Regions from separate parts of the Homo sapiens genome. Here region 1 is linked to region 2. Evidence: promoter capture Hi-C in human tissues and cell types (Jung and others, 2019). All regions are on one chromosome and are shown on one strand. Each heading gives the region's core, a stretch centred on a gene start or on the middle of the fragment in contact. The rest is flanking DNA. Distances are from core to core; before and after follow the strand shown.

Region 1 (2,700 bases), core at 96-2,595, 510 kb before region 2:
TGCCCAAGTGCTCAACAGCCACATGTGCTGGTAGCCCCTTTCTGGAAAGCACAGGCATGGAACATTCCCATCATCAGAGAGTGATGTCTGTTGGACAGCACTGCTCTGAAGAATTCTGCAATTAAAAGGATTCTCAGATGAGGCCGGGCGTGGTGGCTCATGCCTGTAATCCCAGCACTTTGGGAGGCCGAGGCGGGCAGATCACTTGAGGCTGGGAGTTCAAGACCAGCCTGGCCAACATGGTGAAACTCTGTCTCTACTAAAAATACAAAAAGTTAGCTGGGTGTGTGGCACGTGCCTGTAATCCCAGCTACTTGGGAGGCTGAGGTAGGAAAATCGCTTGAACCCAGGAGGTGAAGGTTGCAGTGAGCCGAGATGGCGCCACTGCACTCCAGCCTGGACGACAGAGCAAGACTGTCTCAAAAAAAAAAAAGAAAAAAAGAAAAAGACTCTCAGATGCAATGGAAGTCCTACTTTCACAAGTATATAATTAAGGACGTAAGTCTTGGGGGATCCCAGGGACTTCACAGAAATTAAGCTTTCAATCCCAAATTTGTGATGCTGTGCCAATTTGTAATAAGGAGTTTAGGAAAAACTCTCTAAGCAGGGAGGGACAGGCTCTGCCATCACAAGTCAGTGGAGTTACACAGAGAGCCATAACTTTACACTTTAGGATTTATCCAAATGTTAAAAGAAAGTAAACATTTCAGCTTGGTGGCCCATGTGATCTCTGTCACAACTATTCAGTTCTGCCGTTGTGGCCTCAAAACAGCCATTGATGCATTGTAAATAAATGCACGTGGCTGTGTGCCAAGAAAACATTATTTACAAAAATAGGCTTTAGGCTGGATTTTCCATGCCTGCTGTGTCTGAACATTTTCTCTTCTCCAGTGATAACCAGTCGTTCTGCTCAGTGGTGGGGGTGGTATTTGCCGAGCCAGAATGTGTGTGCTGTTTTAGGAATCCGTCACCTTTGAGGATGTGGCCGTGGAGTTCATCCAGGAGTGGGCATTGCTGGACAGCGCACGGAGGAGCCTGTGCAAATACAGGATGCTTGACCAGTGCAGGACCCTGGCCTCCAGGGGTAAGGCTGGCGTCACCTGGCTCCTTCCTGTACGCAGGCACTAAATGCTTCTTAAGCGCCTGCCATGTGAAGAAGACAGACGTGGCTTAGGCTTTGTGGCACTTAGCGTCCACAGGATGACAAAGCTTCATCTGTTGCATTGACTTCTTTCCCTCTGTAGTAAGGCCCTGTTTGGGTCTCCTTGAATTTGGCCCCAGGCTTCTGAGGTGAGACAGCCTCAGCCCCTTGGGGCAGAGGGGAGGGTGTTTGTGGGTTGGGTCCTGAGTTCATTAGCTATTGGGCAAGATCCCTTTGCTACCCATCACACTTGCTCAGCCCAGAGAATCTGAAGCCCATATTGAAGCTGAAGGAGAGTTTGAGTTGAGAAACAAGAGTTTGTTTTCCCCTGCAAGCCCTCTCTCTCTCAGTGCCTGTGTCTTTCTTCATGTGCAGGAACTCCACCATGCAAACCCAGTTGTGTCTCCCAGCTGGGGCAAAGAGCAGAGCCAAAGGCAACAGAACGAGGGATTCTCCGTGCCACAGGTGTTGGTGAGTACCAGGCAGGCTGTGGATCCCCCGACCCCCCTGGTTGGGTGGTGTGCCTTGGGAAGTGTCAAGAGCATTTTCAAAGGCCCTTTGTTCTGAGGGGACATCGAAGGCCATTCGGAGTGAGGTTTCTCAAGTTCCTTTAGCTTCTCTTCTATTTTCACTTTCTAGCCCTCCTCTCCTACTTTCCTTTGGTTTCAGAAAAAGATTTGTTCTAATTTCTCTTAAAAAATTAGAGGGCCAGGTGTGGTGGCTCTTGCATGTAATCCCAGCACTTTGGGAGGCCGAGGCTGGTGGATCACCTGAGGTCAGGAGTTCGAGACCAGCCTGGCCAACATGGCAAAACCCCATCTCTACCAAAAATTAGCCGGATGTGATGGTGCACACCTGTAATCCCAGCTACTTGGGAGGCTGAGGCATGAGAATTGCTTGAACCTGGGAGGTAGAAGTTGCAGTGAGCCAAGATTGCATCACTGCACTCCAGCCTGGGGGATAGAGCGAGACTCTGTCTCCAAAAAACAAAACAAAGCAAAAATTAGAGCTATAAGTCACACACCATGAAATTCACCCCTTTAAAGTGTGCAGTTCAGTGGTTCACAACCTTGTGTAAACATCACCACTACCCAATTCCAGAACATTTTCATCACGCCAAGTAGAAACCCTGTCCCCATGGGCAGTTACTCCCCATTACCCCTCCCTCAGCCCCTGGCAGCCACTAATCTGCTTTCTGTCTCTATGGATTGTCCTATATAGACATTTGTATATGGAAATCGTATCATAAGTAGCCTTTGGTATCCGGCTTAGTATAATAGTTTTGTGTTGCAAGTAAGTTAGACTGGGTAGTTTATAAACAATAGAAGTTTATTTGACTCCTGGTTCTGGAGGCTGGGAAGTCTAAGGCTGAGGGGCTGCATCTGGTAAGGGCCTTCTTGCAGCATCATAACATGGTGGACGAGATCATGTTGCAAGAGAACAAGAGAGGCCCAGACTGGTTTTTACAGCAAGGCCACTCTTGAGATAACTAACCCCCTTCTGAAGTAATCACAGGGCAGATTCCTCGTGACCTAATCACCTTTTTTTTTTTTTTTTTT
Region 2 (2,700 bases), core at 16-2,515:
GGCGGCTCCTGCCTGGTCCTGCCCCGTCCGGGCCCCGGGGCTGGGCTGGGGAGGCCGTTCACTCCCGAAACCCCCACCCCGCCCAGCGCCAAGCCCCACACTGGCGTCTGGGACCCCTGGCCAGGGGCCTTGGCCCGCGCCCCTCCCCCGCCCACCAGGCCTCCCGTAGCGGTGAGGGGGGTGCCCCCGCAGCCCCCTCCCCGGCCCAGCCGCGGGTCCCGCTTTGTCTGGCAAAGAAAGCGCGAGGCCGGCCGGAGGGAGGGGGTGTCTAGACGGCGCGGCCATTGTCCCGAGCGGGGGAGGGGAGGGAGGAGAGGAGGAGGGGCGGGGGCCCCTGGCCGGCTGGGGAGGGGCTCTGGCCGCGGGGAGGGGGCGCTGGAGCCGAAGGGGAGCACGTGGGCCCTCGCCCCTTCCCCTCCCCGCGCAGGGGCGGGGTCCCAGGGCCTCCGGGTCCCCGCGGCCAGAGGAGAGAGGCGGGCTGCGGGCGGGGGAGGGGGCGCGCGCGCCGCCGAGGCTCCGGCTCGGAATCCGGCTCCGGGTCTTGCTGCGCGCCGGCCTGGGAAGTTTTCTCCGAGTTCAGAGCTCCCAGAACTTCGCGCCCCCTCCCCACCCCCCGCCTGGCCCAGCCCGCCCGGGGTGTCGGGGGCGGGGTGGGGGGGCTTTTGTGCGAGAGGTCCCCGGCCTAGAAGTACCTGGGCCCCCAATCATAACCTACCCAGGACTCCAGGCGTGAGTTGGATGGGGACGAGTCCCGAACTCTGTACGCACCCCCCCACCTCGAGTCCCTGATCCCCGCACCTCGAGCTCCCAGTCTCGGACTCCTGGGTCCCTTCATCTTCAGCTCTAATCGCTCAAGGGTCCCTGTTCCTTGGGCCTCTGGGGTCCTCCCCATTCTGAATCTCTGGGTCCTCCAGGACTGGCATGAAGCCCGGGGCTCCTGCGCCCCTTCCCCGACCCTGGTTCCTGCCTCCCATGAACCCCCGCCAGCCCCGGCCTTGGGGGTTCTTGCACTCCCCCTCTGCCGCCCTCGTCCCATCCGCCAGGTCCCGGCCCCTCACCTGCAGCCCCCGGCCCCGCTAGCAGCAGCAGCAGGGGCAGCGCCCGCACGGGTGGCGGTGGCGGTGGCGGCGACATCGGGCGACGGCGGCGGCGGCGGCCACGGGCCCCCGGCCCCATGGCGGCCGGCCGCGACCCTCCCCTCCTCCCTCCTTCCCTGGGCTCCGGGCGCGTCCCGGGCCAGCCTCCGCGCCGCCAACTTCGCCGAAGTGAGGCGGCCGGGCCGCCCCGCCCCCAGCCCTCGAAGGCTCGCCCCGCCCCGGGGCCGGCCCAGCGCGCCCCCGCCCCCCGCCCGGCCTCCCGGGGTCCCTGCCCACCCTCCACCCGCACAGCCTGGGACGCGCGGACCCTCGGAAACCCAGGCCGAGCATGCAGTGAGACGCGGGCAGAACCCGGAGTGGCGGGCACACCCAACCTCGTGAACGCCCACGCACCCCATCCCCATCCCCCAGTACACACCCAGAGCCGGACACCTCTGGAGCCGGGACAAAAAACACAGCCTCCCAGAAACTCTGGAAACTGAGGCCAGTCACGTCCTGAGAGGCTCATGGACCCACAGCCACGGACGCACAAATGCAAGCCCATGCACCAAGCTTCCCCAGGACTCTGATCTAAAACATTCACAAACCTAAAAGTCGGACCGGGCGCGGTGGCTCCGGCCTGTAATCCCAGCACTTTGAGAGGCAGAGGTGGATGGATCACTTGAGGTCAAGAGTTGGAGACCAGCCTGGCCAACATGGTGAAACCCGGACTCTACTGAAAATACAAAAATTAGCTGAGCGTGGTGGCGCACGCCTGTAGTCCCAGCTATTCGAGAGGCTGAAGCAGGAAAATCGCTTCAACCCAGGAGGCTGAGGTTGCACTTAGCCGAAATCGTACCACTGCGCTCCAGCCTGGGCAACAGAGTAAGACCCTGTCTCAAACAAAACAAACAAACAAAAAACCGCTAAAACTCACTCAGCCAGGCCAGGAGCCTAGGACTACATTTGCAGCCTCAGACCTCAGACACGTACTAGGAGTCACATGCATGTGTGTGTGTTCACACATGCACACACAAACTCTTCTTGCTCTCAGCCCTCCCAGAAAGCAACCCACTTCCTCTGTGACTCTCAAAGGGTCACCCCAGCCCCCTAGTCCCACCCCCATACCCCACACAGCTTTGGGCCTCAGCCTATCTGGCTCAATTTGATTAATTCTCTTTTCTTTTTTTTTTTTTTTTTGAGACAGCGTGTCGCTCTGTCACCCAGGCTGGAGTGCAGTGTCCCTATCTTGGCTCACTGCAAGCTCTACCTCCCAGGTTCAAGCGATTCTCCTTCCTCAGCCCCCACCCCCACAATCTGCCAAGTAGCTGGGATTAGAGGTGTGCGCCACCATACGTGGCTAATTTTTTCTGGGTTTTTGTTTACTTGTTTGTTTGTTTTTGAGACGGAGTCTCGCTCTGTTGCCCAGGCTGAAGTGCAGTGGCATGATCTCCGCTCACTGCAAGTTCCGCCTCCTGGGTTCACACCATTCTCCTGCCTCAGCCGTCCGAGTAGCTGGGACTACAGGCAACTGGCACCATGCTCTGCTAATTTTTTTTTTGTATTTTTAGTAGAGACGGGGTTTCACCGTGTCAGCCAGGATGGTCTCGATCTCCTGACCTCG

What was found. The method cuts DNA at HindIII sites, captures the fragments that hold promoters and counts their contacts. A contact is called where the count stands out against the background at its distance.
Region 1: a fragment that was not itself captured here is called in contact with the fragment with the promoter of NOTCH3 in region 2 in 2 of the 25 tissues and cell types used here (mesendoderm cells and thymus).

Annotation. Positions count from the first base shown.
Region 1 is chr19:14,694,050-14,696,749 of GRCh38, forward strand. ZNF333 (zinc finger protein 333) reads left to right here. Exons shown (of 12, transcript NM_032433.4): 3 at 961-1,084; 4 at 1,517-1,612. Among named protein-coding and RNA genes, the nearest start is that of ZNF333, 5.4 kb to the left of the region's middle. The HindIII fragment of the contact is 5,396 bases long and covers 1-2,700 here.
Region 2 is chr19:15,199,730-15,202,429 of GRCh38, forward strand. It overlaps NOTCH3 (notch receptor 3), which reads right to left and starts at 1,266. Exons shown (of 33, transcript NM_000435.3): 1 at 1,059-1,266. The coding sequence starts at 1,176. RefSeq lists a silencer at 336-562 and enhancers at 1,149-1,650, 1,651-2,150. The HindIII fragment of the contact is 7,500 bases long and covers 1-2,700 here.